5 separate regions of the Homo sapiens genome follow, and regions 2, 3, 4 and 5 are each linked to region 1. Evidence: promoter capture Hi-C in 16 types of primary human blood cells and fetal thymus (Javierre and others, 2016). All regions are on one chromosome and are shown on one strand. Each heading gives the region's core, a stretch centred on a gene start or on the middle of the fragment in contact. The rest is flanking DNA. Distances are from core to core; before and after follow the strand shown. Region 1 holds the start of TMEM140 (transmembrane protein 140). Region 2 overlaps BPGM (bisphosphoglycerate mutase). Region 3 overlaps LOC124901750 (a long non-coding RNA gene). Region 4 overlaps LOC124901750 (a long non-coding RNA gene). Region 5 overlaps CALD1 (caldesmon 1).

The links. The method cuts DNA at HindIII sites, captures the fragments that hold promoters and counts their contacts. A CHiCAGO score of 5 or more calls a contact.
Region 2: a fragment that was not itself captured here is called in contact with the fragment with the promoter of TMEM140 in region 1 in 2 of 17 cell types (non-activated CD4 T cells and naive CD8 T cells); the score reaches 5.8 in non-activated CD4 T cells.
Region 3: a contact is called between a fragment that was not itself captured here and the fragment with the promoter of TMEM140 in region 1, in 1 of 17 cell types (naive CD8 T cells). The highest score is 5.0, in naive CD8 T cells.
Region 4: a fragment that was not itself captured here is called in contact with the fragment with the promoter of TMEM140 in region 1 in 2 of 17 cell types (non-activated CD4 T cells and total CD4 T cells); the score reaches 6.1 in non-activated CD4 T cells.
Region 5: a fragment that was not itself captured here is called in contact with the fragment with the promoter of TMEM140 in region 1 in 1 of 17 cell types (naive CD4 T cells); the score reaches 6.4 in naive CD4 T cells.

What each region holds. Positions count from the first base shown.
Region 1 is chr7:135,146,650-135,149,383 of GRCh38, reverse strand. TMEM140 (transmembrane protein 140) reads right to left here and starts at 1,312. Exons shown (of 2, transcript NM_018295.5): 1 at 1,114-1,312. It also overlaps a transcript of CYREN not described here. RefSeq lists an enhancer at 1,034-1,533. The HindIII fragment of the contact is 6,449 bases long and covers 1-1,863 here.
Region 2 is chr7:134,679,319-134,682,052 of GRCh38, reverse strand. BPGM (bisphosphoglycerate mutase) reads right to left here. Exons shown (of 3, transcript NM_001724.5): 3 at 2,237-2,734. All of the region lies in intron 1 of LOC124901750 (a long non-coding RNA gene), which reads left to right. Among named protein-coding and RNA genes, the nearest start is that of BPGM, 34 kb to the right of the region's middle. The HindIII fragment of the contact is 8,564 bases long and covers 1-2,734 here.
Region 3 is chr7:134,702,649-134,705,382 of GRCh38, reverse strand. The region is part of intron 1 of LOC124901750 (a long non-coding RNA gene); the gene reads left to right. Among named protein-coding and RNA genes, the nearest start is that of BPGM, 57 kb to the right of the region's middle. RefSeq lists silencers at 1,411-1,621, 2,192-2,486. The HindIII fragment of the contact is 3,656 bases long and covers 1-2,734 here.
Region 4 is chr7:134,718,670-134,721,403 of GRCh38, reverse strand. All of the region lies in intron 1 of LOC124901750 (a long non-coding RNA gene), which reads left to right. It also overlaps a transcript of CALD1 not described here. Among named protein-coding and RNA genes, the nearest start is that of CALD1, 60 kb to the left of the region's middle. The HindIII fragment of the contact is 1,676 bases long and covers 496-2,171 here.
Region 5 is chr7:134,862,452-134,865,185 of GRCh38, reverse strand. All of the region lies in intron 2 of CALD1 (caldesmon 1), which reads right to left. Among named protein-coding and RNA genes, the nearest start is that of CALD1, 84 kb to the right of the region's middle. The HindIII fragment of the contact is 8,480 bases long and covers 1-2,734 here.

The sequences.
Region 1 (2,734 bases), core at 63-2,562:
GAAAAAGCAGGTATAAAATCACTCTACATAGTGTGACTACATCCATATAAAGAGGCATAGGAGAAAGAGACTAAAGAAGTATTTGAAAATGTTAATGTTAGCTGTGGTAGCTCTGGGTGGTGACATTACAGGCAATTGTTCTCTATTTGCAGTAAAATATTTTTAGAATTATGTGCTACATTTATGAAAAAAAAAGAAATTTATAAAACAGGCATTCAAAACAGCCTTAGTAATTAGATAAAGCAGGGACTAAGCTGGAAAGAAAGTTGAGAAAGGGGAATATGTGCAAGATTGAAAAAATATCTCATGGACTGAGTCTCAGACCTGAGATTTTGGGGAATGGGGTATGGTAAGTGGATACTGAAAAATGCTCTTCAGTTATCATGAGGGAAGAAGGAAATATGTGTCTTTTCCCTCTTTCAAAGGAGCCTTTGATTTTATAGGCGAAGAAGCATAGTGGAAGTTATTAGTGAAACTAAGCCCACATTAAAAAAAATCTCTTAAAATATGCATCAAGAGAACTAAAATACCACCATGGATTTCCACTGGGGCATGAGGAGCAATCTGGTCTAATGACTAACATAAGATCTAAACATCTCTTAGGTCCCATTCTTTGAGGCAAGAACACAAGTTTTTCTGTTGATATTAATCTTCAGTGTGTATTTTAAAGTTTTATGATGTGTTCGTAACTACCATTGAATAGTGGTTTAGTTAGTGTTGGTCGGTGACCTGCTTTTGTTTACCTATTTCTGATGAACAGTGTATTGCACAAGCCACAGCCATGTCCTTGTACACACTGCGTGCAAGACTCTGCTGTGTGCAGTCAGCCCTGCATCGTTTCTAACCAGTTATACTGGCCTTACTTTCATCATCTTTGAGGCCAGAGCTACACATGTTGATGCCGAAGAGTGGAAGGAAGGAGAGCAGAGAGTAAAGGGGGTAGATTATGTAGATTATACAGACATGAGCGAGGGAGGGTCACAGATACTGAACAACCAGTGAGTTCCCCTATGTGGATTGCCAGAACATGAAATATCTGAGAAGAAAACAAAATTGTCTTACAAGGTAGTAGACGTCTGGGTAAGCTGTGATGCTTGCAGGATCGGTACTTACAGAAAGGAGGTGCAGAGACCACAGGAACACTCATGAAAAGGAGAAGCAGGAAATCAGGGTTGGTTGTTTGAATCTTCCTTCTCGCTGGCTTTCTAATGTCAGACTCCAGAAAGGAGGAGTGGAAGGGAAATGGCAGGCAGATGCAGTCCTGAGCTGGTGCCCCCTTGCCTTCGCAGTCGTGCCTAGTAAACAGCTCTCTGAACTTTGGTACATTTGTTCTGACTGATGTCACTATCAGCTGATTTCACTTTCGTTTCCTAACTTGCCAGTGGCCCATGACTTTTCAGAAATGAGGTATGTAAACAACTTTTTATTGTCCATTATGACATACTCTTTACCTACACTGTAGCCGGCAAACCAACTGATTTAAAGAGCCAGGTAAATGTCTTGATTATATCACACAATAATTCCAGAAAGGGAAGGAGCCAAAGAACTCTCGAAGCTCCCAGTGATTTAAACTGCAAGATAAACACAACCCGGAATTTTATTCAGAAGAAACCCATCAGGATCATCTGGTCCAAGCTCCCAGCCAGTGTGGCAGTCAGGACCCAGGTCACCTCCTACTCATTTCCTTGGGAAGCAGCTATGCCGTCTGTCCCCCAACCCCTTTTAGAGATCAATTTTGTAATGATGACTGGGCTTCTCTGGACACAAAACTTTGTGTCCTGAGCATTCTCACTGCAGTGTTTAGGCCCATGTTGGAGCAGCTGGAACATCTATTTTATTTCAAAATAAGAGCCGAACAAAGCTTTTATTTTTGTAAGCATTGGGGCTCCTGGCCAGAGTTTAAAAATTGCTTCCGTTGCTCACATGACCAACTGGAAATTTCAACTGTGGGTTAAACTTGGTTACATGAGACTGCTACCTAGTGCTATTGCTGAATCCTTCAGCGGTTCTCTTCTGCTTCCTTGCCCTTCCTCCAAAGGAGGAGTTATTTGAACTGCTACATTGCCCTCCCCCTGCCCCTAGTTCTTTTAAACGCAAACTCTAGAAAGAGGTGATGGGATCCAGGAGGAAGGAAGAACAGAGGCTTTGAGATCAGAGAGTTCTGCTACATACTAGCAAATTATTTAATCTCTTTGAGCATCAATTTCTTATCTGTAAAATGGAAACAGTACCTACTTTGCATGGTTGCTCTGGGGACTGGAGATAATATAAGTGCTTAGTACAATACTGGGACCATAGTAATGGTAGCTATTATTATGAAAAGTGGAATTTCTGTATATTTAGTCTAGCATCCATATTAATGCCTTTAAGACAGAAAATTAACTTTTAGATACTAATATACAGTAGTTACTCTGAAAACTCAATACTGGTGAGTGAAGTGATATAGAAGAGATAGAAACATATTTATATTTATGAAATTTATTCAAGGTTATCATGTACCTAGTTTTCAAAGAGTCAGTTTTTCAAAACTTACGAAAATCGGCAGTCCCACACTCTCCCTTTCTTCCTCTTCAGAGGCAAGCACTTTCACCTGTGCTCATTCTTTAGGCATTTACCTCAGTTCTCTAAATAACATGCTTGGATTGGTACTTCTTGATTTTTCAGTTTCAGGCATAATCTACTGACTCCCAACCATAAAAGGTGAAGATTTAGCTTTCTTCTTCCCCACTGCATG
Region 2 (2,734 bases), core at 159-2,658, 470 kb after region 1:
TGGAAATAGATCATCACATTCATCTTCCTTGCACACCTTATCAAGGAAAAATACATTAGCCATAATGTATTCTAACCAAGGATATTTCGTTAATTTGATGCCCATATTGGTACTACACAATGCAAAATCTTCTCTTCTGATGCAGTACTGCTCTTTTAGAAAAACCATTCTCAGTGTACTGGGATACGGTACTAGTTTGAGAGGCTTTTTAAAAGTTAAAACTCTGGGAGCAGCTGATGTTGCTATTGCCTTTATCTTGCCACACTGACCCACATGGGACAATCATCTCAGCCTGGGCAGAGGAGACATGCATAGCTGGCTCCAGGGAAAGCGTAAACTGGCAGCAGGATAGGCTGCCTCCTCCAAGGACCTAATTCCTAGATAGGCTGTCTTTTTTTTCTTCAGTAGAGACAAAGTCTTGCTATGTTGCCTAGGCTGCTCTCGAATTTCTCAGCTCGAGCAATCCTCCTGCCTCAGCCTCCCAGAGTGCTGGGATTACAGGCAGGGGCCACCATGGCTGGGCTGGTCATTGTCATTCCCTCTTTTTTTTTTATAGGAGAAAATAAATCCCTAATTTCTGTCCCAGCCTCAGAATAGAAGGATGCCAAGACTGGGATAGAGAATAAGCAGCCTTCAAGATTCCTGCATCAGAAATTCTGGATAAACTGTTAACAATGCAAAGAAAACAGGTTCACTAGGTGATCCTAAGGTTGAAGTGCTGGAGTTGTTAACTAATTTTAAGTGACATTTAAAAAAATGTCTTGGCCGGGCACGGTGGCTCACGCCTGTAATCCCAGCACTTTGGGAGGCCGAGGGGGGTGGATCACGAGGTTGGGAGATTGAGACCATCCTGGCTAACATGGTGAAACCCCATCTCTACTAAAAATACAAAAAATTAGCCAGGTGTGGTGGCGGGCACCTGTAGTCTCAGCTACTCGGGAGGCTGAGGCAGGAGAATGGCATGAACCCGGGAGGTGGAGCTTGCAGTGAGCCGAGGTCGTGCCACTGCACTCCAGCCTAAGCAAAAGTGTGAGACTCCGTCTCAAAAAAAAAAAAAAAAAGGCTCTTCTGTTCATATTTTTTCAGCCAAGATCTCAAAAACAGTAAGACCAAATTGTATCACAGAGTACTGTATTAGCAAAAATCATCCTTTTCTTGGGAAGCCTGTGAGATTCTAAAGTGACTGGATATGACAGTTGCTTTGTGTGCAGAAGCACATCATGCTGCCAGAAGGTTCCCTGGAAGAAGATACCTTGATGCAGGACAATGGAAGAATCCAACTCTAGGATCTTGAAGTACATTAAGACATGGTCACCCCTTGGGCTGGAAAACTCAGAGGCCAGTTCCAGAGATGATGATATTCAAAAATGGTGTGAATATCACTATGGCAGCCTAGCCATAGGTTTGGAATTCTACGAACATCATCTGGTAGTTGCATTCTTGACCCTGATATTTGAATTCTAGAGTATTACTTGGTTAATCAACACCACTAAAACGAAGGGGCTACACTAGAGAAACCAATAGTAGGTAATTAATAAATGTAAAGCATCCACATTCCATGTCCTTATGCATCACAGATGTGGCCAGCTGCAGGCAGAGCAGGTTCTTCTTTTCAACCATCTTCTTTGGCTAATCGTTAAAAGTCTTGCGTTAATAATCAAATGGAGACAAAGCAGTAGCAAAAATACTTTAAAGTTAGTATTCTTCAAATGCCAATTGTACTATAAAGTGGATAAAAATAAACTAATCCAATGAAAAACCATGAAAAAAATGGAAAATATCTATAACAGGTATTATAGCTACAAATGTTTTACATGACTTTATCATCGAAATATATGTGACCTGCTTTGAAACAGAGTCAACGGCTTAAAGAAATGATGACTTACGTACCCACAGCATCTAAAACATAGTGCAAAAGAGTATCATTAAGACAGATATGCAATCGTGTCCATGGCCTACCCTGACTGCTCCGTGCTACATACCATAATCTTTTGCCATCAGTTAGTTAATGAACAAATTTATGTCACAAGCCCCAATATACCATTCCCTCTGCTTATGTGAATGAAGTTACATGCACTGTATTCTACCTTCCCTGCTTCATGCTTCAACATATAGAAAATCATGAGTATCTGTTGTGTTGAAATAAGTGCAATTCTTTCTTTGAGTGTTACAGGAAAGTATGAGTCAAAGACTAGTTTAGAAGCCTACCTAAAATTCACCAAACACACGGAGACACTTTGGGGATGCCATTTTCAGTCACTTTATTATCAGGAACTTTATTTTTAAACTAATTACAGGTACCCAAAGTTCAAAAAATTAAAACAAACCAAAATGAGAACCTCAACAGCCATAGTTGTTTATTTGCTGCTTATTCTTGTGGCCAAAGAGGAATTCTACTAAATGTCAAATGAAGGATGTCTCTAAACTAGAAGACAAGTTAAAGGGCCTTGTTGTCATTTCTGTCATTGTGGTGGTGGTTGTTGGCTTTCTTGGAGAAATATATCTGTGACTTTCTCAACTAATGGGCCTCTGGCCTTAATTATCAAAGTATCCCTTTTCCTAGAGGAAAAGACTAGTAATAAATACATACGGTATATTATCTAATATCCCTTACTGTTATCCCAGAAAATCTTATTAAATATTAAAGTGAACTACTGATTAGAATAGTGCCTGTCAATGGTGACTCAATAATGATTTCTTGAATGATAAATACCTTTAACTTCATCTCTACTTG
Region 3 (2,734 bases), core at 174-2,673, 440 kb after region 1:
AACCATCCCTAACAATCATTCTTGTTGTTCATTGGCTGATCTAAAGATTTGTTAAGTCAGAGTGGGATAGGGTGACAATTTGTAACACTTCTTTTCAATTCCCAAAGATCACTGATTTTTCTCTTTATTGGGTTATAGACAATAATGTGCACTCTTCCCTTAACCCACTGATTTGTTTCCACTCTCCAACAACAGTAAAAATTATAGCAATCCTATGTTATGCATCTTCTATGTTCCAGAAACAATGTTGGGTGCTCGACATAAGCATATCATCTCATTTGACACTGACCTTAACTCTGCGTGTGGGTGTTATTAGCCCTGCTTGATAGGTAAGGAATCTGAGGTTCAGCGAAGCATGCCTCAGTAACCAAAAGTATCGTATTATTTTCATAATTATATTGCAGTGTGGCTTTGAGGTTTGGCAGATGTGAGCTTGAACCCTAGCCCTGACACTCACTGTAGTGGGACTTTGGATGAGTTGCTCAACTCTCCTGGACCCATTTCCCCGGGGTGCAAGGAGTCCCAGTGAGGGCCAAGAACTCCCTTTGGGTGTGAGGAAGAGGGTTTGCAGGTGGTACCATGGAGTGTATGGTTCTTGATCAGTTCACCCCTCTCTAGGGTACTCTGGGAAGGTCAAGTTCTCAAACTCCCCAAAGTCTCAAAATCCCCAAGAAGCCCCTTTCTGGAATTTGGGGTTTGCTTATGACTCCCTAGGAGTAGCTGAAGTTTTTCTAAGAGGACACGAACTTCTCACATTTCCTGAAATACTTTTCAGAGGGGTCTCCAGGGCCCACCTCAGAAAAAGTCTATTGGCAATGAGGTCCTGTGGTTTCTCAAAGTTAAATTGTGATAGGTTTGGCCCTTCCATCTGTTCTAATGAGCAAAGGGACTTCTTTGCTTGGTAGTTAGCCCTGCGTAGTGGGTGTATCCCAGGTCCCTACAACATTCAAAGTACTACCACACAGTGTTTACTAAGGTGACCCAGGAAAATTTCTTTAGCCATTATATGCAGAAAAAAAAAAAAGTGGAATGAAATCGCAGAAAGGCTTAGCCAAGGGCACTTTGAAATTCACAATACTCTATCAGAAAAGTCTCTACAGAAACAGTACTCCTGTAGGCTCTTGGTTATAAATATTTAAAGGTCTGAACACACGGAATGCCAAATTTGTCTATCGGCTCTGCAAATAAAACAACCTATTAATTATCCATTAGTACTACACATTTCCTAATTTATACATGCCTCAAATTGAGCTGTCCCTCCCTTATACAGTGGTTTGGCTGCTCCCTGGGGTGACCTAAGTGAGTCAGCTGCAAAGGAGACTGATGCTTTTATTTGCAGTTTGTTCTCAGCCTTTGACCTCAAAGAAACTGCTTTCGTAAGCGGGTAGGACTCTGCTTGGTGGGGGTGGCAGGGGGCAAATGCTTTCAGAACAACCCATCAGTGACATCCTGTGACCTGCAACGAAAGGCCTATGAGAGTAAGGGCCTCCTTTCTCAGCACGCCTTTCTCCTCACCCTAGTAATGCCTCAGACCATGTTTACGCCAGAATTAACATACTTCGGGGAAGCATGCAAAAGGAAATCAAATCTCCCTTTGCCTGGGCTTTGAGAATTTCTGAGCGATTTCTCACCTCCATTCTGCCTTATGCTTAGCTCTCTGAACACGGTGGCTTAGAAGAAGAAGCAGCACTGAGATCAAACTCTGCTTCTCTACCCCGAACACCTTCTGTCTGAAAAGAAGCAGAGAAAAAAGAAAGAGCTGGTCCTTGTTTTGTCGGTGAGAAGAATGGACCACATCAGTGGTTCTAAACCTGAAGCCTAAGAGTCAGCTGAGATGCTGGTTAAAATCCAGATTCCTGGGTCCCATCCCCAGTGGCCCTGGTTCATTAGTTCAAATTCCCCTGCGGATGGCTTCCAGACTAGCTTCTAGGGAGACATGGTAATCACTTAGTCCACCCAAGCTGATACAGCCTAAGGTTTTATAGGTCATTGACCCCCGCTATTCCTGGCAGCCTGGGGCCAGACAGCCAGTTCTCATCAAGCCTTTAACCAGTCACTGCCTCACTGATGTTAGATGTGACCTGGGCTTCCTGGTCAAATTCCTGATCATCCTGTCTTCCTCAATAATAACAACTCAAAGTTCCCGTGTTCTTCTTCCTCTGTAGTCAGAGATACCTTAAAAGCAAGGCAAAGAGAAACAAGAGAAGCTGGTTTATAGCTGAAGGGAAAGGCTCTTTGATCCATCTTTCTCTCACCACTGCCTGCTCCTTCTGTTCCATTCCTTCCTGTAATAGGCACAGTCATCATTTTTATGTTTTTTAAATAAATAAAAGCACAATCATGTCAGGGCTGAGCAGCACCTTTGAGAGGATCTGATCCCCTTCCTTACTGTTCAGGCAAGAAAACTGAAGACAGAGGTTAAGGAACTTGCCAAACGTCACAGCCAGCAGAGGTAGTGGTGGGATTTGAACCCAGGCAGTCTGGCTCCAGCACGCAGGCTTGTAGCCAGAATGTTCCACAATGCATAGATGCAATAAGAAAGCTGATCTAATAGCACAAGACAGGCGAGCATAACAATGTCGGGAAGACCCATGCAGAGGGCAGGGGAAAGGTTATCCTTGTGCTATTCTTGTAATTTTGTTCAACAAAATTGTCAGCATGTGGGCAGAAAAAGAGGCAAAGCCACACACTGTCTTAACCATTTGTAAGCACAGACTATATCACAAAGGGGATT
Region 4 (2,734 bases), core at 84-2,583, 430 kb after region 1:
ATAGAATTGCAGAATTCCAAGGCTGGCAGGACTCCAGGGTCATGAAGTACCCCATCCTTTTTTTTTTTTTTTTTGCAGATGACTTAAACCAGGCTCAGTGAGTTGAAAGGCCCAAAGTCACTGCAGTTAATCAGAAAATTAAATTAACTGAAAATCGCCGTTCTTGAAAATATCCTATTCCCAGGCATTTTCTTGCACCCCTAAGGGGAACATTCTTCTCTTCCAGAGGGCTGCTCCACTGCTCTTGCCACAACTGTGGGGGACACAGGGAGGCCACAGAGCCTCCTGTTCCAGCGGCCTATAGCGAATATCAGGAACAGCCCCAGGCTGTTGGGCTACAGGTAGGGAGAAGATTCAGAGGGTCTGTTAGGCAGACCACAGCTTTGCTAAGAAGTTACATGGCAAACACCAAATCACCAGTTCTCAACTCTTTGTTTGATGCTATTACTTTTATAATCTATGGTTCCCTTTAAATCTAGTGTAATATGACAAGCTTATAATTCAAAACACATTTGTACAAAATGTAAAATACACACTGTACAAGCCCATGAATATAAGACACAATGTTCCCTTCAGGCCTCCTACTGAAAGCAGACAACACTTCTTCAAATCATCTGACATTTCTTGTCTGCTAGCTTGAAGACCCTTCATTCCCCACTCTCTGTTGTTTTCCTATTGACCAACTGCTACATTTCATGTGGGTCCTCTTGCTCATGTATGAGTGCATGTTAAGCGTTTGTTTTCCTTTAGGACAGACATTCCCTGCTGTGTTTTTCCTGGATTTGGACTATTTTTACTATTTACTTTATGTTGCCATGGAGATGGGGAGATCACAGATGTTAAGCGTTGGAATCTGGGGCCACAGGAGACATTTATCATTGTACTTTGTATGAAGTAGGCTCTTGTTCCCCATTTCTGCAAAGCCTCATGTTTATTTTATAAAGAAGTTACTAATGAGGACTCAGGCCTAATAAATAATGGGAAACTCTGCTTCACCTCCATGGCACATGCTTATTACAACAGCGATCTTATTAGGAAGGAAGGTAGAGCTCCTGAACACACAGAGATTAGCAGCCGTCAGTTTTTTCCTCTGCAGGAAATAGAAGGATGCATCAGAACAAGGGGCCCATTCATCATTCTTTCCCAGCTCCTTGAAGAAGAGAAACTTTCCCAAATTATTTCAACTATGCTCTGCAAGGAAAAAAAAAAAAAAAAAAAAGAGGAGGGCTAACCAGAGTGCCACTGTCGTCACTAACAAATGTTTGCTGATTACTGGTGAACAAAGGGTGAGTCTGACTTCAGCAAAATACAGTGGGTGAAGTTTACAAAGGCTACATTCTAAAAAATACTAAACATAGGTGCTGAAAGCATACACGCTAACCAAAGCGGGGGTTAAGAAACCCAGCTTTTATTCTTTTGAAGGATCTGTGTAGCTCAAAGTACAACTGAGTTGAAACAGAGATACAAACAAGAAAACAAACACTCACTGCGGGCATCTTTGGCGATTGATGTGAACATTTCGGGGGCATCTTTGGTGATTGATGTGAACATTTCGGGATTTGAACATTTTGGCTTTTGAACAGGTAACTCTCAAAATTCATTCCCTTAAGACTCAACCAAGGTAACTTTTGGCTTCTGTCACCTTGTCCAAACCAGATTGGGGTCCTTAAAAGCTCTTTTTTGCACACACACAAGGCCGTTGACGTCCAAGCAAAACAAAATGGACAAACACATATCGGACAATGGCCATTGATGGGCCCAGCTACACTCTTCCTGTGCTTGGAGAAATCTCTCCTATCCCCCCTCGCAAACTACCGGTTTCTTTCCCTGGACGCTGTTCTCTGCCTGCTCTTTCTAGGAGACAATGATGACTGCCCCATTTCCCTGGACTCTAGCCCTTTGCCTGATTGGTACTTTATTTAGATTGGCTGTTTGGCTCTTCCTAGGCTTCACCCTGGGTGCTCTGCTACTTTTTACAGGTCTACACCAAGTTCCTCTGGCGAGCCTCATAACCCTGTTCTGCTCCCAACTCTTGTTGTAGGGACCCCAGCCCTCTATTTGCCCTGTAAAGTTATTTGGACATATTTTTTTATCCCTTTTTGTCTCTCCTCTTTCTATTTTTTTCTTCCTTATTTATTCTTCACTTCTCCCTTTCCTTCTTCTCTGAAGCTTAAATTTTCTCTTTAAACAATCATTTTTCCGTTCCCAGTGACCTTCATAATTTGGTCTGAAAGTTAATATTTCTGTAGCTAAAATGTTTTAAGAGGCAATAGTGGCAGAAAGAACATTGGACTAGCTTCAGACCTTAGTTCTAACATTTGTGAGCTGTAGGATATTGGGGAAAATAATGTCCTTATACCTCAGTTTCTTCATTTGCAAAATGGAGATAATACTCTATAGTGTACACAGTAGTCATGAGGCTAGCATGGGTGAGAACCACTGATAGGTTCCCAGTAAAAGGTAATTATTTCATTCAACTTGACTCAAAAATTTATTTGGCAAGTGTTATTCATCTAGGTATGACATCTAAGCAATAGTGACAATATTTTGGGGAAATAAAAACTCCAGAAACAGTTGTCAAGAACTGCTAAGGGTCTTAGATTTTACCCTTCTTGAAAACTAGCAACCAGTATAAGACATGAGACTTCTGGGTCAGAGACAAAGAATTTTATTATTCACAACAACAGCAGTAGCCAACGTCTTCTGATTGCAACAGAAATTTGTACAGTAATTT
Region 5 (2,734 bases), core at 59-2,558, 280 kb after region 1:
AGTGATTTTCTTTTTCTCTTCTACGTCCCCAGTCCCCAGGCAGTAATCCCTCATTTCCTGCCCTACCCCTACTCAGTGCTGAATTCTTTTCAGCAACATTGGTTAGGAAACAAACTCTCAACCAATGAAGGGATGAAAAGTCAAGACAGGGTGATTCCATCAGTCGTGAGGCTCTGGGTGTCACAAATAGAGTAGTGTGAAAGAGCTAAGTATTGATGTTAGTGACAGATGATGCGTTCTCGGAGAGTTTTATGAAAATCTAAATTTTTGTGCTGGAGGAGGGACTGTGGTCATGCTATTGAAAAATTTACTGAGGTGACTTCTTTTGTAAAGAGGGGAAAAACAAAAACCTTAACAGAGGCAGATGTCATTACCTATGGATATGTCTGTGTTTTCAATATGGATTCTCATAGATAGGATTTTCTTTTAAAACAGGGCATGCCTAAACTGCCATGATTAAGAAATAAGTCAGTGTTAAAGGTTTCAGGCCAGATGCAGTGGCTCATGCCTGTAATCCCAGCACTTTGGGAGGCCAAGGTGGGTGGATCACTTGAGGTCAGGAGTTCGAGACCAGCCTGGCCAACACGGTGAAACCCCATCTTTACTAAACACACAAAAAATTAGCTGGGTGTGATGGCAGGTGCCTATAATCCTAGCTACTCAGGAGGCTGAGGCAGGAGAATCACTTGAACTCGTGAGGTGGAGGTTGCAGTGAGCTGAGATTGAGCCGCTTCACTCCAGTCTGAGCGACAGAGCGAGACTCCATCTCAAAAAAAAAAAAGGAAAGAAAAAAGATTTCAAATCACCAAACACACTGCCCTTCCTTTTTTTTTTTTTTGAGATGGAGTTTCACTCTTGTCACCCAGGCTGGAGTGCAATGGCGCGATCTCGGCTCACTGCAGCCTTTGCCTCCCAGGTTCGAGAAATTCTCCTGCTTCAGCCTCCTGAGTACCTGGGATTACAGGTGTATACCGCCACACCCGGCTAATTTTTATTTTTAGTAGAGACGGGGTTTCACCGTGTTGGCCAGGCTGGTCTCTAACTCCTGACCTCAGGTGATCCTCCCCTCGGCCTCCCAAAGTGCTGGGATTACAGGCATGAGCCACCGCACCCAGCCTGCCCTTCTTTTTGAACAAAGCCACGAGCCTGCGGCCCAGGGGATTGGCATGATGTGACGAGAGGCGTGTCCTGCATCTTACCACCACGCCAGGGCTTCCGGGACTTTCCTCTCTTTCCTTTCCTTCCTCCTTGCTTTTTTTTCTCTGCCTCTTTTCAAAGGCAGAATATTGAGTGGTATTTCTTCTGACATTAAAAAAAATTTTCTCTTTCTTTGTGACTTTTTTTTCTTCTCTGTCTCCCACCCTGTGTCGGAAATGAAAGTATATTTATATTTATTAAAATCAATTTATGGCTCGTTTCCTTTAAAAATTTAGTTCAATAGCTGATGTGCATCTTTCAACCAAGAAATGTATTATGTTTTATATTCTTTTTTGCTGTTTTTCTTTTTCCCTCTATGGGCATGTAGCCCTCACTATAGATATTTCCTGTGATGCCTTTATAAGGGGAACTAGTAAGTTTCTGCTTTTGTTTGGGTCAGTGTTGGTGGCAGATAAGCCATTTTAGGTGTGTGTGGGTATGCTCACCTGTGTCACCTGTGCATGAGCACGTGTGTAAATGCAGTCAAGGCAGGAGATGTTTGTGAGCAGGTGGCTAACCCAGCACTCAACACTTAGGGACAAGGCCATGTGGAAGAAGCTAAGTCTTATCTACTTTTTGGGCAGTGCCAGTATTGATCTTGGAATGCAAGAAGAATAAAATCTGTTGTGTCAGGGGCACTGAATAAGTTAATGCAGCATCCAAAAGGAACTAACATTTATTGAATATGTACTATGTGGCAGGCTGTTTTTTAAGCCTTTAACATTTTTAATGAATAGACTTATTTCTTAGAGCAGAAAAAAAGCGAATAGAGAGTACAGAGTTTCCATATATTCCCCCCTCCCCAACTCCTGCCCACATTTTCTCCTGCATTTGGAGATAGAGTCTTTGCAGATGTAGTCAAGATGAGGTGATTAGGGTGGTCCCTTATCCAATATGATGGTGTCCTTATGAAAAGGGGAAATTTGGCACAGAGACAGACAAACACAGAGGGGAGATAATGTGAAGACATGGTGAGATGCCATGAGAAAATGGAGACAAGGAAGACCTAAGGCCACCAGAAAGCTGAGAAAGAGAAATGGGACAAACCCTTCCCCAGTGCCTTCAGAGGGAGCCTGGCCATGCTGACACCTCCATTTCAAACTTCAACTCTCCGTAACAGTGGGACAAGAAATTACTGTTATTATAGACCAACTAGTGTGTGGTACTTTGTTATGGCAGCCCTAGGAAACTTAGGAACATCTTGCAGTAGTGTGGTACATTTGTTCCAATTGACAAACCAGTATTCATGCATTATGATTAACTAAAGTTCATAGTTTACATTAAGGTTCACTCTTTGTTGCACAGTTTCATAGGTTTCACCAAATACCGAATGTCATGTATTCACCATAGTAGCATCATACAGAATAGCTTCACTGCCCTAAAAACCCCACCTGCTCCACTCATTTATCCCTTCCCTCTCCTTACTCCAAAACCCTGGCAATCACTGATGTTTTTATGTCTCTACAGCTTTGAGTTTTCCAGAATATCATATAGTTGGAATCATACAGTATGTCTGTAGCCTTTTCTGATTGGCTTA